2 separate regions of the Homo sapiens genome follow, and region 1 is linked to region 2. The links are contacts of gene promoters, found by promoter capture Hi-C in human tissues and cell types (Jung and others, 2019). All regions are on one chromosome and are shown on one strand. Each heading gives the region's core, a stretch centred on a gene start or on the middle of the fragment in contact. The rest is flanking DNA. Distances are from core to core; before and after follow the strand shown. Region 1 overlaps LOC105378641 (a long non-coding RNA gene). Region 2 holds the start of GJB5 (gap junction protein beta 5).

Region 1 (4,890 bases), core at 533-3,032, 140 kb before region 2:
GAGGTTTTATTGCCTGTGAGTGAGCAGGGTCAGGGAGGCCCAGGTTAATGTTACGCAGGAAAGACTTCCTGAGAGAAGTGAACACTGGGATTCAACAGAAGTGATGTGCGGGAGAAATAATACTGTCAAGCATGTTATTGAACACTTATTTTATGTCACGGTCTGAGCCAAGAGCTTATATATTTTATTTCATGTAAGTGACAGAGGCAGAATATGAACTCAAAGAGTCTGATTCCAGCGCTACACACTTAATGAATATACTGCAAAGTCTCTCAAAGCTTGGATGGAGATGAAACAGGAAGGTGTCCCAAGCACAGACACCCAACAAAGACAGTGCTGGAAATAAGCAGGTCCTGGACAGGATTTGGCACAGTGTCAGCTCCAGCAGATGTAGGCAAGCAGAGAGCAGAAGACAAAGAGTGAAAGATGAGACTGAACATCAGACTAAAGACTTTCGGGTTGAACCCACTGGCAATAGGATGTGTGTTGGAATCGTGATTACCTGGTGCCTGAGAGAGAGCTTCCCATGGCTGATGTAAAGGATGGGTGAGAAAGGAAGAAAAGACAGAAGATCAGCTGTGAGGCTCCAGGGTGACTCAGGTGACAGGTGACAAGTAACAACTTGGAAGGAGGCCCGGGAATAAAGGAGCCATGGCAGAGGAACACAGCGTAAGATCTGAGGAAGTCAGAGGCAGTGGGGAGCCCCCATTCAGCCCTATCATTCTTTTTTTATTCTCAGGGCAAACTAAAGTATTAACTCAGTTCTGGTTCCTACCCCAGACCCAAAAGCTGCTTCTGTTTCCAATTGTCAACACAAGCAGAAAGAAAGTCACCCACCTTGGTTAATTGCCGTTCTGCTGCATGGAGGGGCCCAGGGATCCCAAAGTCATTAAGCCAGGGATGGTTTTGGTGTCTCTAACCTCCAGTCTCTCCATGATACTGAGGAATATGCTTGATTTAATTGGCCTGCTTTAAAAAAAAAAAAAATCTTGTGATGACTTTCATGGAAATAGACTACTAGCTGAGAGACCTTGGTGATGAATAAAAGTTTAGTGCCTGGAGAGCTTCACCAGTCCACCACTCTGAACCTGACTTCCTCCGGCTGGCTAACTCTTCTCCCAAGTGTGTCTGTCTCCTTGACCAAGCAGAGACAGCCCACCTAGGGGCTGTCACTTGGAGTTAGAGGTGAAGAGCAGAGCTGGATGGAGGCACATGGGAATCTTGCCCTCTCTATCTCCCATCTGGCACCCAGCGTGTGCATTCTAAAACGCACACTCATTGATTCATTATACACCTTAAAACCTGCAGGAGCTTCTCAAGATCCTAGAGATGAATTCCAAATCTTTAACGTGGATTTAAGGCCCTTTGGCATCAAGCCTCAGGCCAACTCTCTAGCCTCATATAAGCTTATACTTTGTGTTTCCTGGCTGTGAATGGCTTTCAAGTGCCTCGGGGGCACCCTCTTGCCCCTCATTGCAACCGGGGGAGGAGGCCACAAATGTACCAGGCATCCCATCAATGCAGGCTGATGGAGCAGTAGCAAATTGCAATGACCTTATATTTAACTTTGGGAACCTGTATTGATTTCCTGGGGCTGCCATAACACATAAGCCACTTGGTGGCTTAAAACAACAGAAATTTATTTGTGCCCAGTTCCGGAGGCCAGAAGTCTGAGATTGAGCTGTCAGCAAGGCTATGCTCCCTTCAAATACCCTAGCGGAGAGTACTTCCTTGCCCTTTCCAGCTTCCAGTGACTGTCAGCATTCTTTGTGTTGTGGCTGCATCACTCCAATCTCTGCCTCCATCTTCATATGGCCTTTTCCTCTTCTCTCCCAGAATTCTCCTCTTTTGTCTCTTATGGAGTCACTTATCATTGGATTTAAGGCCCACCCAGATAATCTAAGATGATCTCATCTTGAGATCCTTAACTTAGTTACATCTGCAAAGACACTTTTTCCAAATAAAGTCACATTCACACGTTCTGGGTTAGGATGTGAAGGCATCTTTTCGGGACCTGACCAAAGAAGGGTGAGTTGGAGGTAACTCTTGGACCGAACAACTCTTTGGAAATAAAGTAACAGATGAGGAATGGCAGTGTGGCCCAGGGAGGTGTCAGGAAGGGCAAAGGTACCCGTCAATTTGCTCTTTAAGCTGTATCCCAGTTTTGCAGTGAAGCTGTGACCCCCAAGGAAACTCAGAAGGGACCAAAAGTAGACCAGAGCCTGAGGTATACTTCTGTCACCGCTTCCTCTGGAATTGGGATCCTGCCCATCAACAGCCCTTGACCTCAATGCACTGAGACCCACATCCTTAAGTCTATTTTATGAGCTTAAGGAAAGAAGCAGATACGGGAGAAAGACCATAAACTTTGGAGTCAGGAGACTGGGTTTGAATCCTGGCTCTGCAACTTTCTAGTTGCTTCGTCTTCCTTCACTGTAAAGGGGTAATGCTATTTCTCTCTCAGGGCTGTTTGGGTTAATGAAATATGAGCACTGTGCCTGGCCCATAACAGGGGTTCTAGACATGTTCTGCTTCCTGGCCACCTTCAAATGTCACCTATTCCTTCTGTGGATATCCAGAAAGGATGTCCCCACACCTCCCCAATTCTGCAGGCATCCAGCCCGAAAGGGAGGCTGAAAAAGACAGACAATCATGGGAAGAGGGGAGCTCTAATGGACTCTCTACTTACGCTGCACAAACAAGCTCGGACAGAAACTCCTCCTCCTTTGTTCTTTAGGACCCAGCAATGCTTCAGCCCCTGCCACCCTGCATTAAGCAATCTTTCAACTCTCTGTCCTTCTTTATCTAATAAGTGGGGCCACTGGGTGAAAGTTGGCACTCCCGTGGTACCTTAGCATGCCTTCCACTTTTCTCCTGGTTGTTATGTAGGATATGATACCATTCGCTTAATCTATTGTTGCTGGACCAAGACAGGGCTATTTAAGTCACACTCTTGTTGTTGAAAAGTCTAGCAAAGCTCATATCCTTTGAGTATAACAGGAGCCAAATATTCCAAGATTCTATAAGATATTTGTAAGCAAAAAGACAGAGGGGACCAGTGAGAAAAAGTATTGCCAAATTGGAGATGAAAGTCCTCTGATATCCCACCACCACAACCCCTTTCCTGCCCCCATTTGTCACTCTGTACTGGGAAATGTCACAGTATGAGGAGGTGGCTGATGTTAGGAGAGATTGTGCAATACTTGGCAGTGGTTGTAAAATATTTCCGGGGGGAGGAATTTCTTGCATTCTATATAAGTCTAGGGAAGAATCATTCCCCTTTAGACTTGAGGCTTCACATTGCCTCTCTCCATGTGACTGGCTCTTTGGCCCCACTGGGATAATAACATTTTCCAACTTACTGCAAGCTAGAGGGTCGTTGTCATCTTTAAGCTAACCCAGGGTGCCAGGGGCCACCGTGACTGAAAGGTGTCCTAGTCTAGCTATACCTTTATTGAAGGAAACTCTAGTTTGGGCCAGCAGTTCTCAACTGTGGACAATTTTGCTCCCCAACCCCTACCCTGGGGACATTTGGTAATGTTTGGAGAAATTTTTACTTGTTGCTATTAGGCAGGGGTTGCACTGGCATCTAGTGGGTAGATGCTAGGGATGCCACAAAACATCCTATAATGCACAGAACAGCTCCCACAACAAAGAAGTATCCAGCCCCAGATGTCCATAGGTTGAGAGTTTAAGAAGCCCTGAACTGGACCCTTCATACACAATGTGGAAACACCTCTTTGAGTTGCACTAAACTCACTCCAGCAGCATGGGTCATGCCTTGGCATTGAACACTTGCTAGTGGGCTGGTTTTCCCTCTAGCAATGGGCTCACCCAACTCTCTGCCTGCAACCCCGCCCCCTCAGGAAGAGCATTCTTGTGGCTAAGATGAAAGACTCATGCCGCAGGCCCCTATGCCAACTAGCCACTTGATTGCTTTTAATTAATTCTGCTTGATTACAGCACATGGGAGTCACATCGGACAGATAAGACAGGCTCTTTATATTCCATCTTCATTAAAAAGTTTGGATCTGGAAGTTTTTTCAAAGAGCTATGTGTCTCCTTTACTTTTGTGTCATTTTTAATTGAGGAGGGCACAGGGAGATGTGCTGAGCTGTGCTGAATGGAGACTTTGCAAATGCAAGATGGGGTGTCTGAGGCCCCTTCTGGGGGAAAAGGCAGCTAGACTGAGACCCAGTAATCTGAAGGAGATAGTCAGGACAGAGCCAGTCCACTGTGTCTGAAAGAGGTGTAGGGAGAGGAAGGGAACCACCAGCATCTCTTTTATTCCATTACCAATAGTGCATTAGCCCAGATCTACAGAACAACACGGTGCAGATTCTTTGCCAGGTGTGGATTCTAGGGTAGGAGCTTGAAGATTGTTCCATGGTAATAAGAGGAGAGGGAAAGGGAGGATGGATTACCACTAATTATCTGTAGCCTTCTTCTCTAGCTACAGGACCATACCCTCCTTGGGGACACCTTGCCCAACTTCTCCATGCAGATTTGATCACTCCTGCCTCTCTACCCCTACAGTGCATGGTTCATCTTTCCAGCAAAGCATCGTGTTGTATTAGTTATCTATTGCTGTGCAACAAATCACCGCAAAACTTAGTGTCTTAACACAACAAATATTTATTATCTCACAGTTTCTGTGTGTCAGGAATTCAGGTGTGACTTAGCTCAGAGCATCTGGCTCAAAGTCCCTCATGATGATGTAATCAAGGAGGGTAGGATCCACTTCCAAGCTCATTCACATGGCTGTTGGCGGGCCTCATGTCCTCACTATCACCTGGAGATATCAGTTTCTTGCCATATGGGCCTCTCCACATAAGAACTCACAACATGGCCACAGGCTTCCAACAAAACAAATGAGCCAGCGAGTAAGAG
Region 2 (5,217 bases), core at 990-3,489:
CCCTCTTGCTCATTTCTTGCCTAAATCATTGCAGTAACTTTCATACCGGTCTCACAAGCCCCTCCAGCCTCTTTTCTCAAACAGAGGAAGCTTTCTAAACATACAGTTGATCTTCATTATTCACAGATTCCGTATTGTGCATTCTCCAGCTCACCACAATTTATTCCTAAGCCAAAATCTACACTTAAGACACTTTCATGGCCATTTATAACATGCACAGAGTGGCAAAAATTTGAGTCTCCCAATGCACGTGTTCCCAGCTGTGGCTGAACAAGGTGACATTCTGCCTTCCCCTTTCAGCTCTAATGCTATAAACATGTTCTATTGGAGGTCTACTTGGTGCCATGTTTTTCTCATTTCTTGCTTTTTGCTGGGGATTTGCTGTTTGAAATGGCCCCGAGTACAGTGCTGAAGTGCCATCTAGTGTTTCTAAGCACACGAAGGCTACGATGAGCCTTATGGAAAAAATATGTGTGTTAGACAAGCTTCATTCAGTCATGAGTTATAGTGGTGTTGGCTATGAGTCCAATATTAATGAGTCAACAATATATATTAAACAAGGTGTCTTCAGAAACACACATAAAACAGACTTCTGTATTGATCAGTTGATAACCACATTGTAAACAGAAGCTTGCAGGAACCTAACCTCATATGTCCTCTAGGAAGAATGCTTCAATATTCACTAACTTGGTGCTCATGGTGACTCATAGACTATAACTACCTTGAATAATGAGAATCAAATGTACCAATCTGACCATGTCTCTTCCTTTTTCCTGCCTCAGCACAATACAAAATGTAAAAATAGAAAAAAGAAAAGAATTCCCTCATGCCTCCCTCTGCACCCAAGATAAATTCAAACTCCTTAGCATGACATTCCAGGTCCTTCATGGTCTGGAAGGTCTTTGCTGACCTTCCAGGCTCCTTGCCATGTGGTGTCCCCACCACTACCCAGCCCACTCTCCAATGCTCTTCCATTATTTTTCACAAAGGTCCTCTGCACGCTATGTGCCCACTGCCTCAAAGGCCCCTCCTCAGCATCTCTTCTTGGTAAACTCCTATACATCCTTCAAGACCCAGCTTAAATGTTACCTTCTCCGGCTCTCCCTCTGGCAGAACTTAAAACTCCCTTCTCTCTCTGTGTCTTTTCTAGGACTTCTCACAATGTTGTAACTGATCTCTTTATATGCCTCCTCTCTCCTGTACTTGGCAACAGCTTTTTGGAAAGAGCATGGAGTATAGAAATGTGTGACTCTCTGCAGGGTGTGTGCATTTCACACATCATTCATTCAATAAATATAAATTGAAGCCTAACTGGACAAGACACCAGGCACCATACTAGGCACAAGGGATAGAGCAGTGAATAAAATAAAGCCACTGCTGCATGTGTGTGCAACACTGTGCCCATAATTGTGGCCTGTGTGTAAGAGTATGCTCATGTGAAGCTACATTGTGTTTGCTTGTGGACATGAGGTGTTTGTGGCTCCTGGATGCTTTGTCTGTTGAATCCTGACCCCAAGTGACCTGCTGATACAGGGCACCTTGGAAGTCAATTAGGCCAAAAGACCGTGTCTGTGCACTAATGAGAAGCTTTCCCCAGGTGCCCCTGCCCACCTTCTCCACCTCTCCTGTGGTTCCTGCCTGGCTTGGGTTTGGCCTTTTTAACCCAAAGACAACATGCATCCAAATGAGATTTTCTCTAGTGCATACGTCTCTCTCTCCCTCCCTTCTCCTCTGCCTTCCCTGTATCTCAGAAAGAAAAGGCCTAGGAATAAGGAAAAGGAGGAGGAAGAAACATTTTTTTGAGGACATACCATGCGGCAGGCCTGTGCTGGGCAGTATACACGCATTATAGGCAATTGTAGACAGGGCTTCCCTTGTGTCAGGCACTGTTCTAAGCACTTCACCCCTAAGGCTGGGTTAATCCACGTATCCACCCTATGAGGTAGGTGTTGTTCTTTTCCCACTTTCACAGAGAAGGCAAGAAATCACACAGTGAGAAAGTGGCAGAGCTGGGATTCAGGCCTCAGCTTCTCCCACACAAGCCCACAGATGGGAGGATGAACAAGGAGTCAGAGTGGACCTGTGGCTCTCCCCTGAGAGGATACCAGGATTCGAGGCTCAGCGCCCTGGGAGGAGTGAACCCCTCAGTTTCCTGAGCCTCATCAGAAGCAGTCTGGGGAGGCTGGGGCCCAGCCAATGGCAGTGCAGGTCCCAGCTCCTCCTCCTCCCAGGCTGGGCCAGCACACCCGGCAGGCTCTGTCCTGGAAACAGGCTTCAACGGGCTTCCCCGAAAACCTTCCCCGCTTCTGGATATGAAATTCAAGCTGCTTGCTGAGTCCTATTGCCGGCTGCTGGGAGCCAGGAGAGCCCTGAGGAGTAGTCACTCAGGTAAGGGCATCTGTGTCCGCATGTGCCCTGCCCCTTGGCATACGTGGCAGGAGGACACTTCTCTGCTGGGGAGTGGTGGGATGTGGCCTGGACACATCTGCCACCCTGGGTCCTGATGGTGGAGGAATAAGGGGCTCTGGGTTCTTTCAGGTCTCCCCAGCCGGGCAAAGGTAGGAGCAGGGGCCAGGCCGGAAGCTCAGCAGGCAGGGTAGCTCTGCCTGGGCCTGCAAAGCCCTGCCCCACTCCTCCCCAAGTAGGGATGGGCTGGGTGAGAGCCCCTGGGGCTAAGGGCGGGGCCTTCCTGGGTGTTCCCTGAGAAGCTGCAGGAGTCCTACCTTAGACAGGACTGAGCATGCAAGATGGTGATTCAAAACAGAGCTCCCCCCAACCCCGGCCCCCACCTCCACCCATCCCCCGTCCAAGTGGCGCAGGTGGTGTGGAGACAGGGTGGTGGGCAAAGGTTCCCCCAGCCACCCTCATCCAGGATCCACACACAAGGGGAAGGACAGAATCCGTCTGCACACAAACAGGCAGGCAGCTCATTGAAACTTGAGGAAAGGGTCTGAGGCCTAAGGCTGGGCAGTTCCCGGAGGGTGGGCTCTAGAGCCAGCCTGCCTGGGTTCAAATCCTAGCTCTGCCACTTATTAGCTGTGTGACGTTGAGCAAGTTAATTAATCCCTCTGTGTTCCTCTTTCCTCATCTGTAAATTGGGAATAAAAAATATGCCCTTTCCTAAGGTTGCTGTGAAGGAATAATGTACTGATTCATACAAAGAACTTAGAGCGGTGCCTGGCACGGCATGAATGCTTCATGGATATTGGCTGTTATCACTACTCTGCTTTGCAGTTGATCATGCAGAGGCTCCAGAGAGCCTGGTGAGCTTCAGCCTGGACCAGCATGGGAAGGCCATCATGAGCCCTTTAGTGGCTAGGCAGACAGGTTCCTTGGGGTCCCAGGGTGCACAGTTGGTTGAAACCACAGTGCATGGGTCTTAATGGACACACCCCCATCTCCAGGAATCAGGCAGAGGACTCGCGGGTGAGGAAGTGGGGACCCCTTACTCTGCCTAGCAGTCACAGTCCTTACGCGGAGGTGAATCTGATTCTGTGAGTTCATCAGGCCAAATTCACCAGCAGAACTGACAGGAGCAGCATTTCCCACTTGATGTCTTGACAAGGCTGTTCCACAAGATGATAAATGTTATGTCAGGAGGAAAAGGGCTTCTGTGGGCAAATGAGTTTGGGCAATGCCACATATTTCATACCTCTTTTGGTGAATTTATTAGTGAGTTTATTAGCACGGTTGAGCAAAAGAACCCTATTTAACTTTACTAAACCCAATGTTTGCCAACTTTTCTTGACACAGAATCCTCTTCTCTCACTTCTCCTATTGCCAACCTATGGGACAGGGTTCCAGGGAACACTGTTTGGGAAACACTGGAATACCAGGTTACTCTAGGAAACCTACTGTATGAAGAGAATTTATTGCTGCCTGCTTTAGCTTTCAGCTGGATTGCATTGAGTGGCACTTGAGCAGGACTCTGCCTGGCTAATTACAGAGTGTTAGACCAGATGGGGGCTTGGGGACAAGGTTCCAGCCTCCTTTCCAGTCCCATCCCTGAGCCAAGAAAAGGACAAAGAGCAGGTTCCCCTGGGGAAGGGGCTGTCTGAGAAGAGGCAGCAGTGCTCAGAAAGGAGAGAACCATCTCAAGGCTCAGCCCCCCTGAGGAGGAGGGCCAGGGTTGAAACAGAGGGAGCAGGCAGAATGTCCCAGCTCCACCAGTCTTCACTCTGCAGAACCTCAAGACCAGAGCCTCAGGCCCGGGGAGGAATGAGTGGCTCCCTGGACCTGCCCTTATCCACTGGTATTGGTAAGAGCTGGGTTCTGGACTTAATTACCTATGCTCAAATCCCAGCCCTGCACCTAATAGTTGTGTAACCTTGTATATAATGCCACTAAACCTCAGCTCCCTCCCTCTACAAAATGGGGACAGTAGTAGAACCCAGCTCCTCTAGTGATGGTAAGGATGAAATGTGATGACATATTTCTACAAAGTGCTCAGAGCAAGTCTGTGATAAATGTAGGAAATGATTGTTCTTGTTTCCCTGCAGTAGCAGCTGACGCGTGGGTCCACCATGAACTGGAGTATCTTTGAGGGACTCCTGAGTGGGGTCAACAAGTACTCCACAGCCTTTGGGCGCATCTGGCTGTCTCTGGTCTTCATCTTCCGCGTGCTGGTGTACCTGGTGACGGCCGAGCGTGTGTGGAGTGATGACCACAAGGACTTCGACTGCAATACTCGCCAGCCCGGCTGCTCCAACGTCTGCTTTGATGAGTTCTTCCCTGTGTCCCATGTGCGCCTCTGGGCCCTGCAGCTTATCCTGGTGACATGCCCCTCACTGCTCGTGGTCATGCACGTGGCCTACCGGGAGGTTCAGGAGAAGAGGCACCGAGAAGCCCATGGGGAGAACAGTGGGCGCCTCTACCTGAACCCCGGCAAGAAGCGGGGTGGGCTCTGGTGGACATATGTCTGCAGCCTAGTGTTCAAGGCGAGCGTGGACATCGCCTTTCTCTATGTGTTCCACTCATTCTACCCCAAATATATCCTCCCTCCTGTGGTCAAGTGCCACGCAGATCCATGTCCCAATATAGTGGACTGCTTCATCTCCAAGCCCTCAGAGAAGAACATTTTCACCCTCTTCATGGTGGCCACAGCTGCCATCTGCATCCTGCTCAACCTCGTGGAGCTCATCTACCTGGTGAGCAAGAGATGCCACGAGTGCCTGGCAGCAAGGAAAGCTCAAGCCATGTGCACAGGTCATCACCCCC

The links. Contacts are between HindIII fragments. The study calls those that stand out against the background at their distance.
Region 1: a contact is called between a fragment that was not itself captured here and the fragment with the promoter of GJB5 in region 2, in 1 of the 25 tissues and cell types used here (heart left ventricle).

What each region holds. Positions count from the first base shown.
Region 1 is chr1:34,614,727-34,619,616 of GRCh38, forward strand. LOC105378641 (a long non-coding RNA gene) reads right to left here. Exons shown (of 9, transcript XR_001737964.2): 2 at 838-969. Among named protein-coding and RNA genes, the nearest start is that of MIR552, 53 kb to the right of the region's middle. The HindIII fragment of the contact is 3,425 bases long and covers 71-3,495 here.
Region 2 is chr1:34,752,808-34,758,024 of GRCh38, forward strand. GJB5 (gap junction protein beta 5) reads left to right here and starts at 2,240. Exons shown (of 2, transcript NM_005268.4): 1 at 2,240-2,388; 2 at 4,500-5,217. The coding sequence starts at 4,524. The HindIII fragment of the contact is 2,696 bases long and covers 1,109-3,804 here.